Linked DNA regions of Homo sapiens: all the other regions are linked to region 3. The links are contacts of gene promoters, found by promoter capture Hi-C in human tissues and cell types (Jung and others, 2019). All regions are on one chromosome and are shown on one strand. Each heading gives the region's core, a stretch centred on a gene start or on the middle of the fragment in contact. The rest is flanking DNA. Distances are from core to core; before and after follow the strand shown.

Region 1 (4,591 bases), core at 801-3,300, 390 kb before region 3:
TTTATTTATTTTTTTGAGACAGAGTCTTGCTCTATTGCCCAGGCTGGAGTGTAGTGGTGTGATCTCTGCTCACTGCAAGCTCTGCCTCTCGGGTTCACGCCATTCTCCTGCCTCAGCCTCCCAAGTAGCTGGGACTACAGGTGCCCGCCACCACGCCCAGCTAATTTTTAATTTTTTTGGTAGAGATGTGGTTTCACCATGTTAGCCAGGATGGTCTCGATCTCCCGACCTCGTGATCCACCTGCCTCAGTCTCCCAAAGTGTTGGGATTACAGGTGTTAGCCACCACGCCCAGCCAATAGTTTTTTAAAGAATAACTCATGGGAATCATCTTCTCTGGGTTCTTAAATGTTGGACACGTTTTATTTATTGTTTTTACATTTGAATGACAGTTTGGCTGTGCATAAAACTCTAAGGCCACATACTTTTTCACTGAGGGCTTCATGGGCATTACTCTCTGCAATCTTGGAATGTTGCTGTAAGGAAGGCTTAGGTTAGCCTGAGGTTTTTTTTAAACTGTGGTCTTGTATAGGTTACTTGATATTCCTGCTGGTGTGACCAAATCATTCTTATCTCCAAGATCTATCAATACATCTATAATACAGAGTAGTATTGATTGTTCTTTAGCAAATTTTCTGTAACATAGTAGACTCCTTCAATCTATAAATTCAAATCTTTTATTTATTGAAAGTTACGTAGAATTATATCTTTGTTTATGTTTCATTTGTTTAATTCTCTTCTTCAGGGATATATTGTGATGTATCTCTGGGATCTTCCTCGTCACCCAAATATACTATTTTCTTTCTAATACTTTTAAGCTGTTGTTTCCGTTTTGTTTGCTTTGATAATCCTGCCCATCATATCCTCTATTCTATGTTCGGCAGTGTCTAGTGTCTATTTTACTTTGGCTGCTTCAAAATCATCTTCATATCTGTGATGATTTTCCCCCTTCAGGCCGGGTGCGGTGGCTCACGCCTGTAATCCCAGAACTTTGGGAGGCTGAGGCAGGCAGATCATGAGGTCAGGAGATCGAGACCATAGTAAAACCCCATCTCTACTAAAAAATACAAAAAAATTAGCCGGGCATGGTGGTGGGTGCCCCTGTAGTCCCAGCTACTTGGGAGGCTGAGGCAGGAGAATGGCGTGAACCCGGGAGGTGGAGGTTGCAGTGAGCCGAGATCACGTCACTGCACTCCAGCCTGGGCAACAGGGCGAGACTCCGTCTCAAAAAAAAAAAAAAAAATTTCCCCCTTCAGTTCTCTGGAGAGCTACATCAGTGTATGTTTCTTCTCTTCTCACGTCACCATATTACCCCTGACCTCTTTATTTCTGTTTTGAGCTCTTTGGTGGTTTCTTTAAGTCGTCAAGATCATGGTAATGTTATCTTTTGATTTGTCTGTTGGAATCACCTATAGTGAGTGTTCTGCATTTACCATCTATTTTCCAGTTTTTTCTCCTTTTATATTATAATATCTTTGTAGTGTCATGTATGGCATATTACAATATCCTGTGCTGGTTCCTTTTTATTGTTACTTTCCTCTGAATGTGGAAACTTCTTGATTCAGATATTTAGAGGACAGTTTTGTGGGATAGGAGTCAGGATGTTGTGAGTTGGTAAAAATTTACCTGATTTACTGTTAAGTCTTATTACAAAGGGTTGTGTGCTGATGAGTTATTTTAGCCACTGCTTCTTCTCGGCCAACAGGCTGCCGTAGTGCCACAACAATGGACTGCTTCCTATACACACAGGATGACTGTGCATTTCCCTTTCAGTTTCATTTGCTACTACATGGTAGCAGGTAGGGTCCAGGGAGGTTTTCTACTTCCAGTCTTGCAATACCCTTGCCATTTTCCAAACAAAGGCTTATTGGCGTCATCCTTTAGGGTATGCCTGCTCTGAAGTACCAGTTTTGGAGACGTGTTTTTTGCTTGCTTTGTCAAAATCTATAACCTGATCATAGTGATTGTCTCTTAGCCCTTCCTGAGCTTTCGTTCCACTGCATTTGGCCAGCCTTACGTCATATATTGTGGTTCATGGATATAGAATCTCCCAGCTTTTTGAAAGCAAAATTTATGCTTTTCACTCATTTTTCTGTTTTATGATTGTGAGGGCTAATACTGAGTGTCAACTTGATTGGATTGGAGGGTGCAAATTATTGATCTTGGGTGTGTCTGTGAGGGTGTGGCCAAAGGAGATTAACGTTCAAGTCAGTGAGCTGGGAAAGGCAGACCCATCCTTAATCTGGGTGGGCACCATCAAATCAGCTGCCAGCATGGCCAGCATGTAAACCAGGGAGAAAAATGTGAAAAGGCTAGACTGGCTGAGCCTCCCACCTTACATCTTTCTACTGTGCTGGATGCTTCCTGCCCTTGAATATCAGATTCCAAGTTCTTCAGCTCCAAGTTCTTGGGCTGAGGTGGGATCTTTCCCTCCCCACTGTACACTGAGCAATAGAGGGTGGTGAGGGGTGAGGGAGCCACGCTGCTGAATTCTGGTTGGCATTCCCAGCTGTGTAAAATGGGGTGTTGGGGTGGGGCAGCCTCTGCTTGGGTTTGGTTATAAGATAAACCTGGAGGAAAAGTACAGTTGCCCCCACTGAATTATTTGAGCAAAAACTATTGTAAATAACTTCTGTTTTTGTCTTTTGTCAAATAAAATCGTTTGGGACTTGGACTGGCTTCCTTGCCCCTCAGCTTGCAGACAGCCTATTGTGGGACCTTGTAATCGTGTAAGTTAATACTACTTAATAACCTCCCCTTTCTATATATATCTGTCCTATTAGTTCTGTCCCTCTAGAGAACCCTGACTAATACAATGATTTTCAAGAGGAAACTGGGAAGAGCTTCTTTTCTGATGACATCTTAAAATTTAAGATGCTCCATGCTGTTTTTACTACATCAAAGCTTATAACAGACTCGGTTTTCTTTCCATTTTAACATTTACAATGGCCATTTTACAAATCAACACAACACAGGAGGCTGGAGGGAAAAAGAAACAACAACAAAAAATCCAAATCAAGTATTGACCTTCGAGCCCCTAAGAATGTCAGGAAGCACTTGGCTAGAATCACTAGGTAAATTTGCGAAGGCCTTCGACAATGGAAATAGAGAGTCGAGGCAAACGTGCACATTTTCACCATTCATAAGCCCCTAAGGAAGCTTCTCTAGGAAGTAAAATCATTGACCTTTTAATTCTGGAAGGACACTGGTGTGAGATTAAAAAGGGACCATAAAAGATGAATCTAGACAGAAAATTAGAACACTTTAACCTCAGTTGTTATATATTTCATCAAATTCCCTCAATCTGCAAGTCTTAAATAATTCTATTATTATTATTATTGTTATTATTATTGGCAGCAATACCACTGAGTGCTTACTTTGTGCCTGATCCTGTGCCAAATGCCCCTCAAATCTCTATGAGATAAAACTACTCTTATCCTCAATCATATATGAGGAAATGTGTGCAAGGCTAACTAATGAGCTCAAGGTCACATAACCAACCAGTGCTACAGCCAGCATTAGAACCCAGTTCTGCCTGACTTTTGCATCTTTTGTTGTAATTGCTGTAAGTGATCAGTTACCAAATTTACACTATTATCTTAATAGAGTTGCATTCTCCATTTTCAAAGGAACATTGACCTGAGTGATATGTGAAATACACACACACACACACACACACACACACACACACACACACTTCACCTGCTTTCAATTCTCTATACCTAGGGAACAGTTTATAAGCTAGTAGCTACCAGATGGCCACTTTGAGAAGTTCAGGTTTACTGATTTGGCCATGTATTTTGCTATGCAGAAAAAAAATAATGCCAATCAATGATTGGAATACAATAAGAGATGATTATTCTTGTGTAATAAGGAATGCAATGGCAGGCAGCCTAGGGCTAGGGAATCTATTTGAGAATATCATCAAGCTCATGGAACCAACCCAAATGTCCATCAATGATAGACTGGATTAAGAAAATGTGGCACATATACACCATGGAATACTATGCAGCCATAAAAAAGGATGAGTTCATGCCGTTTGTAGGGACATGGATGAAGCTGGAAACCATCATTCTCAGCAAACTATCACAAGGACAGAAAACCAAACACCGCATGTTCTCACTCATAGGTGGGACACGAATGATGAGAACACTTGGACACAGGGTGGGGAACATCACACACTGGGGCCTGTTGTGGGGTGGGTGCATGGGGGAGGGATAGCATTAGGAGAAATACCTAATGTAAATGATGAATTAATGGGTGCAGCAAACCAACATGGCACATGTATACATATGTAACAAACCTGCACATTGTGCACATGTACCCTAGAACTTAAAGTATAATTTAAAAAATAAAAAAAATAAAAAGACAAAAGAGAATATCGTCAAGCAACTTGACTTCTTTTACTTCTTGTTTCAACAATCTTAACCATGTATTTCCTTCTGATTGTTAGAGGGTGGTTGCTGCATGTCTTGAAAGTGACTCTTCTTTCCATGAAGGAAGAAAAGGAACAACAAACGGTAAAGGGCAAAGAAGCTTTACCTACTTGGGGAGAGAGAAATGTTCCCCAGGGAATTCTGCCTATGCATGGT
Region 2 (4,825 bases), core at 1,661-4,160, 340 kb before region 3:
ACTTTTTTTTTTTCAATATTGTATTAGTCTCTTCTCATGTTGCTAATAAAGACATATCTGAGACTGGGTAATTTATTAAAGAAAAAAGAGTTTTGATTGACTCACAGTTCTACAGGGCTGGGGAGGCCTGACAATCATGGTGGAAGAGCAAGGAATATCTTACATGGCAATAGGCAAGAAGGAAAATGAGAAGTGAAAGCAGAAATCCCTTATAAAACCATCAGATCTCATGAGACTTATTCACTACCACGAAAACAGTATGGGGGAAACCACCCCCATGATTCAATTATCTCCCACCAGGTCCCTCCCACCACACATGGGAATTATGGGAGCTACAATTCAAGATGAGAGTTGGGTGGGGACACAGCAAAACCATATCAAATATCACCCTAAGGAGGTTTTTTAGACATTTTTTCCCAACTACCTCCATATGAAATTTTAATATCACAGATATATATATCAATCTATGTGCTGCATGTATATTCTGCAATTTATTTTTTTAAAGACTTTTTTCACCACTCCCAACCCAGAACCAATTTTGGCTCCCTTAGGGGGCTACATTGCCCCCATTGAGAATACATGCTGTAGACCCTCTCCTTCCATTAATTTTAAAAAGTTGGCTGCTTGGATAGTTTTAGATGAGGAAAGATATGTTCAGTGTATGGGAGTAAGGTATAATTTTTTTTTTAAAGCATTCATAATGTGTCAACTTTTGTGCAAAAAGTGATAAGGTAGCATGAGCTTTTCTACATAAAAATGCAAGTTTCAATGAACAGTCCATGTTTATTTATGGGCAGACATGTACCCAGCAGCACACCCTCACTAATGGTTAGAATATTGAAATTAAAAAGCTCTTAAGTGCCTCCTTCCCCCAATTCTGCCCTGCTACCCAGTCCCAGTCCCCAAAGTCTCATGGGATAGAGAGGTCTAGACGTTGGAGAGAAGTTTTCCCCTTGTGCTGATGCTGGCTTCCTAATGGAAAGATGCCAGCTAACCCTCTCCTGTGAGGTACCCTCCAAAGCTGCTCATGGGAAGTAGAGACTCTGCAATATATACTACACTTTGGTTATAATTTTCCAATATGTTCCTTACATATAGGCAAGGAATTAACTTAGAAGCTCAAATAACCCACATATGAACATTAGAGTTGGGAGGAAATAAGCGAGAGACACTGGTAGTGTGTGGAAGGACAGAAAGAGAAATGGGATGCTTGTACCCAGAATGGCCACTAAGAATGTTTTATGCCAATAGATGCTATAGATTATGTAGGAATCCTGCCTACAGAAATAGAATAATTGAGGCTTTAGCCTCTATGTAATTAAGACTATAGACATTGATTCCCTATGCTACATAAATTGCCAGGTTGTAAGCTTTTGAATCTGTAGCCTGGATTTCAGTTCCCCCTACTGTGAAACCAATGGCCCATGAAGCTTTGTTGTAGAGCTGTCTTTTGATCTTCGTACCCAATCTTCCAGTGTATACTTAGTCCCTTCAGCTATCTGAAATGCCTCATGAACTAGCCTAACTTGGTTCTGGGGACTATCCACTGAGATAGCATGTGGCCTGAATTTGTTAGTATTATGGTTATTAAGTGACTAAAACTGCCATCTCCTTTTAACATTTCTAATTATTGTGTCATTTAATCACAAAATTAATATGTGTTCATTAAAGATATTTTTTAGAAAATCAGAAAAGTGAAATAGTAATGCTACCTTCCATATATAACTATCATACAAGACAAATGAGCACTTTGTAAACTGCAATATAAAAGAAAAATACCATAGCAGACAAGCTGACCTACCCAAAGATGATCATACAGTGGTTTGTGGCATTTGTTGGAACCAGGGTGACAAACTTTCACTCTGGTGGGTGGAGGTAAGTGTTTCATTGAAGGAAGTAAATATACTGTTGTTCGTTAACCCCAAAGTAGTTGATCATGAGTAAAGGAATAAGATAAACTGTATTAGTTTCTGTCTGCTGTTATAACAAATTATCACAAACTCAGTGACTTAAAGCAGCACAAATGTATTATTTTATACTTTTGGAGGTCAGAAGTCCTCGGATGAGTTGGCAGGGGTGAGGTCCTTCTGAAGTCCCTGGGAGAGAATCCACTTCCTTGCTTGGTCTAGTCTCTAGAGGCTGTCTACACTGTTTGGTTCATGGCTCCCTGCCTCTATCATTACAACTTCTTCTCTGACTCTGACCCTCCTGTCACCCTCTTATTGATTACTTTGAGTCCACCCAGATAACCCAGGCCAATCTCCATATTGTAATTCACTCACATTTTCAAAGTCTCTTTTGCCACATAAGGTAACATATGCACAGGTTCTGGGCATGTGAATGTGGGCATCTTTGGGAGGCCATTATTTGGAGGCCCAGCCTTGGGCCTGAAGGAGGGAACCGGCCCTGTGGTCTTTGGGTTCATGCTAGGGGGCCATGGGAGGAAGGCAGTGATGCCAGAGGTGCGGGTTGAGCTGCCCTAGTCATGTCACTGATGACCTGATGGCACAAAGCAGGACCCCAAGCCCTGGATGCAGCACTAGTGGTTGGAGAGCCCAGGGGTATGCACCTGAGTTCCAATCCCACCAGACCTAATAGACTCTAGCAGAGGATGAGCCTACCTTTGAGCTCAGAGGGGAAAGCTATTTCCGGAGCCAATGATGAATAGTGCCAGAACCTCTCCTATCCTAGTACGTGGTCCTGGTCACTGTAGATCTGCCTGGAGGAAATAGAGTATCTAATGTACCCCTTACTGGGTGTGGCATGAGAAGAAATGACTCCCTTCCTCAGATTTCCAAGAATGATCTGGGCACAGCCACCATCTCTGTGGACCGTCCTAGCCTGGAATTAGCACTGTTTCCTAGTGAGGAAATACTGTTCATTTGAGAACCATTGAGCAGAAACAAATGGTTCTAAATCACTCTACACACCTGAGCAGGGAATGCCTCTTCTTTTGCAGCTAGGCACATTTGCATGCACATTCCGGAGGAAATTCCACTTCTATCTGCACATACCGGGGTCAAGGGCATCCTTTCTATACCTTTCTTTATTGATAGCTTTTGCAAACGGATGCAGCTCCATGTACCTGCCATACTTACTATTTTCAGATCTGCTCACAGCCACCCAAAGATCTTTCTTGAGCAACTACAAAGATGACAATTCCTAGGTATTCTTTCAGTCTGCTCTGGGGGAGAAAAATTACAAGAGCTTATACTCCAGGCACTAGAAGCCATTAAGTGAAACTAATGCCTTCATAAGGCAAGAATGTTTATCAGCTGCTGGTAACCATATTTCCTCCCATCTTTTATTACTTTAAATCTTAATAGGGCCCTTGCACTATTCAACAGCTTATCAATGCCAGCAGCACAGTGTCGTTTATTTCCTATGTATATACCACCGATTGCCCCTGCTGTCCACACTTATGCTGTGTTAGCTGTTGACCCAATTTAATGCCTAGCTGGAAACTTTCCACACAGCTGTGATTAAAGAGGGAAAAAAATGAAAGAAGAGGTGATTCAGTTACTTGCATATGTATAATTCTTTGATTAAAGAAAAAAAAAGGTGGTGAGGGAGGAGATTGTCTAATGACCCACATACATATAAGTTCTTTTTAGGCTCAAGTTTCTTACCCATAATGCAAGCTTTGAAAGCCGGAATCAACTTTCTCAAGTCACTGTGGAATGCTCACTTTCAATTATATGTGAACCCGTACATCTCCAAGTCAATTTTCTTTCTTTCTTTTTTTTTTTGAGATGGAGTTTTGCCCTTGTAGCCGAGGCTGGAGTGCAATGGCACGGCCTCAGCTCACTGCAACCTCCACTCACTGCAACCTCAGCTTCCCAGGTTCAAGAGATTCTCCCGCCTCAGCTTCCCAAGTAGCTGGGATTACAGGCACCTGCCACCACGCCCTGCTAATTTTTTGTATTTTTAGTAGAGATGGGGTTTTGCCATGTTGGCCAGGCTGGTCTCAAATTCCTGACATCAGGTGATCCACCCGCCTTGGCCTCCCTAAGTGTTGGGATTACAGGCGTGAGCCATTGCACCTGGTCTCCAAGTCGATTCTCTTAAAGCTGATATTTCAACTGTAGAGCCATAATTTTATCTCTAATTCATCTAATTCATTTACCTAATTCATTCATTACTCTTTTGGCATAATTTCCAATGTAGGGGGAGAAAAGACTGGTAGTGAACACTGCATTACAATGATCAAGGACAGGATGATGGGGCTGGGCCCAAGAGAGAAATAAAAGGGCACAGACACCGAGCTGTATATTACACAACATTCTGTATCTTATTTCAGGATTTTGATGCTGAAATAATGGCACTGCATTTTCCACAGGCTAGCCTCTCTCCATTTCCAGTACATTCCCTGTAGAAATTGAGAGCCATGGAAGGCTAGAGGATGAAAGAGGATTTGAGAACATCTAACCACAACCTTGATTTTTTACAGAGGCCCAGAGCAGTTCAACAACTTGCCTACTGACACTCAGTAGTCTGTTTGAAGGAGAGAAGCTAAAATCCAAGTCTCCTGATTACCAGGCAAGTGCTATTTCCATAAAACATGCTGTCCATCTTTTCCCCTTGATTAAGTCACCTCAATTGCATTGAGTATGGTGATATGAAGTCACTGTTGGCAAAGGCCAGCTAACCCTCTTCACTCCTGAGCCCAGAGTACACATCTCTGGTACTTATCTGATTTATCAAAAAAATCAGTGCCTTTAGAGATGGATGAGGGTTGGTGGTAGGAAGAATAATTTCCCCACCCCAATACATCCACATCCTAATCCCCAGAACTTGGATATGTTCAGCTACATGGCAAAAGGGA
Region 3 (4,742 bases), core at 943-3,442:
TTAAAATGGACTCATTTAAATAAACATTTCTGCCACAAAAGCATTGTCATAATGTTTCACTTGATAAGATGAATTTATTGCTTCAAAGAAAATCTAGTCTTGTTTTACTGAAACTCTCAGCAATATAAATTCAGTGAATGTTAACTGAAATTCCTTAAAGAAAATCAGAAGTAAAGTTAAGATCTGCCAGAATAAATATATAAAAGGAAACACTGGTGGCCTCTCTCCTTCATCACAATACCTCCCAACAGCTGACATTTATAGAACTTGCAGACTCTTTCAGGAAAGGATGAGTTATTGGGAATAGACTCTCTCTACATATATATAGTTTATGGTGCATGAGATCATATTTACAGGACAATTTAGCTTAAGAGTGGTACAATATCAAAGAACTTAGAATTTATCATCTATAGCATGCGAGATTTGGCTTGCAAAGGTTTCTCTCTCAAGAGTCTCACCAAATGTCCCTCAGCCCTCTACTTTCCTTCACAGAGTAGTCCCACCCATTGAAAAAGTGATAAATTAAGAATAAAGAATATACATCTTACAGAAAGTTTCCCACCATAGTCCCAGTTCCCACTCTATGTAATTACCTATTTGCCTATGAAAATTGATATGTAAGAGCCGTGTTGTCAACACATTTAACTAAACCTAACAGTTTCCTTTCAGTCTTAACACTTTTTGACAGACCATACACACACAAACTTGTAGCTCATTCTCTAACTCCATTTTGATACTTACAAGCCCAGTTCTTCCATCTCTCACCCTCCCTGGAAAGAAAGTCCAGTGGAAGTTTTACCTAAACTTGATTATTTTTGCGTTTTTCTTTGGGGTTGTTAAAGGTATTGATCAGAACTCACCTCCCAAGCATTGATAATCCCAAGCCGACGAGACCCCAAATATCTTCAGTTTGTAACATAGAAATGCTACTGGTCTCAATGACAGAGAAGGAAAATAACGTTCCTACTCCGTCAAATTAAGAAACAAAAATGAAATACAGCAGCTTTCATTCTGAACAAAACTAAATTTTCTGGGTCACTTTCCCTGTCTCACTGGGCCACTTCTTTACGCAGCCTGCTGGTGACTGTAAACACGGTCTCTTCACTCCTCACGCAACCAGTTCATTTGTCATCCTCTCCAAGCGAATAGCCACCGCTTCCTTTGCTAGCGCAGTTCCCAAACAACAAACCTCCCCACCCGCCCCTGCCCTCCACACCTCACCGCGGAGACTCGCTTTCTTTTCTTCCAAACCACAAATGGGCGAGCTTGTTCAGGGAAAAAGTTAATGAACGCCTGATTAGAGGCAAAGCTGCCCTACCTGCGATCACAACATCGGAAGACTGGAAGTATCTAAAAGCGCCATCCTCTGCGCTCTCGTCCCCGTCGGTGTGCGCTTCACACCCAGAAACCCAGGAACATGATTTATATGCAGACCTGCACCCATCCCACACAAGTCCACACGCCAGCTTGCCTAACCACTTATGTAAGCTCGTGCTTCCACAGTCCCAAACTGCAGACACACACACACGGGCACCTGTCACGCATCTGAAATGGACAAGCACCCACACCCAGGAGATGAAATCAACACATATTAATGGGGTGGGGAGGGAGGATACTGTTTTAAACCATGTTTTTCCCCCATTTGTTTCTTGCCCATTTTTTATCACAACTACAATTACCTTAGCAACCAAAGAATTGCCTTGACTCTCCCTCTGGCTCCAGAATTTTTCCTAAAGCCAACCTTGCGCCAGGTTCATGATAAAGCTGGAGAAGCCCAGGGAACCGGGGACCGGCAGCCTCTTGGGGGCGGAGGGGAAGTCTAGTCCGTCTCCGCGCCGCTCCCCACAGCCTCGCCTCCTCTTTCCGAGTTTCCGTGGTGGCGAGCGCAGGGGCTCAGCGAGCGAAGAGCGAAGCCCCGGGCCCGCGAGGACGCGCGGCGGGTCGCATGGTGCCGGGACTCGGGGCGCACAGGGTGTCCCCGGCGCGCTCCGGGCTGGCCTGGCTCTCCGCGCTCCCAGGCGTTCGCCGCTTGCCCGCCTCTGCCCGCCCCGGTCGGCAAGGGTGCGCGGAGGTCTGTCCGTTCCCTCGGCGCCTGGCGGCTCCGGCGGCTGTAGGAACGCGGCGCCCAGGCGGAGCTCTCGCCGCCGAGCAGGGCCGAGCGCGAGGAGCTGCCCCAACTCGCGAAGCCGTTCAGCTCCGCGGCCCGCGAGCTGCTGCAGCGGCGCCCGCTGTCGGATGCCGAGCGGAGCTGCAGCCCCGTGCCCCGCGCACCTGGGCGCCGGCACCTGGGCCCCGGCACCTGGGCCCGGACCGCGTGCTGCAGGGAGGGGCCGGCGGGCGGGGACCGGCACCTGAGCGCGTCCCGCGGGCGCCGCCGCACGGCTCACCTGTTCCCAGAGCCGCGGAAGGCGCAGACCGTGATTTGCTCGAGGAGGAGAAAACCTAGAAATGCCTCATCCTCAAGAAGCCGCCGAGAAAACCGAGAGACTGGCTCGACCGGGCGGAGGCTGCTTTCGTCAATTCCAAACTGGCCCGGTCCGGAAACTTCAGCGGCGTCAAGGTTCTCTTAGGGATTCCCGGCCCGGGGTGAGGTGCCCGGCGGCTTCTGAATCTCCCTCACTGACGTGTTGCTGGCGCCCTCTAAATTAAAACGGGACACCGCGACCGTCAGCGATATTGTTCCTAACCTCGTCATTTTTATGTATTCAACATGCACACCACACGCTGCATTTGGAATATTACAGGATGATTCCTATCTGGAACACTACAAAAGAACTTTCGAGAAAAGTAACTCTCAGATATTCTTGGGGGAAGCAGAAAAAAGTCGAAGACAGAAAATGAGAAAGTAACTTGAACTGATGCCTTTCTTTAACGTGGGAGTTTTGAAATGCGATGTGTACTTAGATTCAAAAAGCTGCAGGTGGAAATAGGACAAGATCACTAGTGCTGGACGGTAACCGTGGGATTTGTGTGCAATATCAATGCTATCAATATCAAGAATAAATTTGAGATTTAGTCCTGAATTGTAGTATGTCACCAGAAAAGGGGAAAAATACTTGAAATAAAATACCTAAATGCCTTTAACGATGGATGACCTGGACTCCTCATTCACATGGGTCCAGAAGTTAAAGAGTAAAGTCTCCTTCCCAAATTGTGTCTTTTCCCGCCATTCTACATTGATTAATGGATGTATTCATTCTTTCCTTCAATAGACAAATAGCACCTGCTCTGTGTTAGACCCTCTTCTAACATTAGAAATGGATAATAAAGGAAGCAGTCTCTGCCCTGAAGCCTTCACGTCGAATGGGATAACACACAAGCAGACATGTGTGTTATGGTAGGCTTAGTACACAGAAAGGCGGGGGGTGGGGGGAAACCTGCAACCAAGAGAAACCATACCCAGCCTAGTGAGGAAAATAGAATTGTAACAGATGTCCCAGTTGTTTATTAAAGCTGAAATATAAAATCTTTCTTTCCTCAGGCTCAATACTTGGCTCAAGCCGGTTGTGGAGCTGGCTGTGGCCGTTTGTCACAGTTAAAGAATAGGCTGTACATGGAGCGAAAGGTAGCAACTAGGGAAACTTCCGCTTTGAGGAGCTCTGCTTTTTTTTTTTTTTTTTTTTTTTTTTTTTTTTTTTTTTTTGAGACGTAGTTTCCTTCTTGTTGCCCAGGCTGGAGTGTGGTGGTGCAATCTTCGCTCACTGCAACCTCCGCCTCCCAGGTTCAAGCGATTCTCCTGCCTCAGCCTCCCAAGTAGCTGGGATTACAGGTGCCTGCCAGCTAATTTTTTGTGTGTTTTCAGTAGAGATGGGGTTTCACCATGTTGGCCAAGCTGGTCTCAAATTCCTGACCTCAGATGATCCACCCGCCTTGGCCACCCAAAGTGCTGGGATTACAGACTTGAGCCACCACACCCAGTGGGAACTCTGCATTTCTGAGGCTAGCAGCTCCTTGAGGGCCAAGTACAGCATGAAGGAATAATACTGTGGAAGTATAAACAGCAGGCTCCAGGCTCATCAGAAGAAAGCCTTACTGTGTACTTCTCTTTAAAAAAAAATATGTGAAATCAGATATTTATAGGAATTAGATATGTATTTTCATATTGATACATTTTGTGTATTATATGGGATTCCTGATATATCTATGTAGTATGGTTTCTTATACATAAAATATCTGATTTCATATGTATGTGTATGTATGTGGGGGGTATTTTATATATATATGTATGTAATAGAGACAGGACACATTTTTTGCTGACATGGCCAAGAGATTGGTTTATGTGCTAGGGAATTGAGCAAAGAAGTAAATACATTAAGAAAATTGGAGCCAGTCATCTCACTGCTGGAGAAGGGAATTACCAATACAGAAAGGCAAGAGATCTAGCTATGTGCCTTGAAGTTGGAGATGAAGGTGTAAAATGATTTTGGATCCAAAGAGATTATAGATAGATAGACAGAAAAATATAAGTGTATATGTGTGTGTATATGGTGATATATTTCCTAGGTTTGTCGACTGAGAAGGCCTAAAAGCAATGGCACCCCAGTAGCAATGAACACACCTAACACTCAGACCTTGGTTTCTTAATACCATCCTCCACTGAAAGGAACCACAGTTCCTTGGTATAGTGGATGAAACTAGAATAATTTGTTGTGCAAGGAAATGAGAAAATACTTAAAGAATTATGGAGACATGTCAAAAGAAGACAGAAGTCAGCTTGAAGGGGTTCCTGTTGGCCAAATCTT

Evidence for each region. The method cuts DNA at HindIII sites, captures the fragments that hold promoters and counts their contacts. A contact is called where the count stands out against the background at its distance.
Region 1: a contact is called between a fragment that was not itself captured here and the fragment with the promoter of RGS6 in region 3, in 3 of the 25 tissues and cell types used here (dorsolateral prefrontal cortex, heart left ventricle and lymphoblastoid cells).
Region 2: a fragment that was not itself captured here is called in contact with the fragment with the promoter of RGS6 in region 3 in 1 of the 25 tissues and cell types used here (lymphoblastoid cells).

Annotation. Positions count from the first base shown.
Region 1 is chr14:72,316,002-72,320,592 of GRCh38, reverse strand. The region is part of intron 2 of RGS6 (regulator of G protein signaling 6); the gene reads right to left. Among named protein-coding and RNA genes, the nearest start is that of MIR7843, 200 kb to the left of the region's middle. The HindIII fragment of the contact is 7,199 bases long and covers 1-4,591 here.
Region 2 is chr14:72,272,057-72,276,881 of GRCh38, reverse strand. All of the region lies in intron 2 of RGS6 (regulator of G protein signaling 6), which reads right to left. Among named protein-coding and RNA genes, the nearest start is that of MIR7843, 240 kb to the left of the region's middle. The HindIII fragment of the contact is 3,019 bases long and covers 1,401-4,419 here.
Region 3 is chr14:71,929,879-71,934,620 of GRCh38, reverse strand. It overlaps RGS6 (regulator of G protein signaling 6), which reads right to left and starts at 2,192. Exons shown (of 18, transcript NM_001204424.2): 1 at 1,680-2,192. LOC124903404 (translation initiation factor IF-2-like) reads right to left here and starts at 2,695. Exons shown (of 2, transcript XM_047432046.1): 1 at 2,596-2,695; 2 at 1,731-2,452. The coding sequence starts at 2,695. The coding sequence ends at 1,731. RefSeq lists silencers at 1,944-2,103, 2,124-2,403. The HindIII fragment of the contact is 19,590 bases long and covers 1-4,742 here.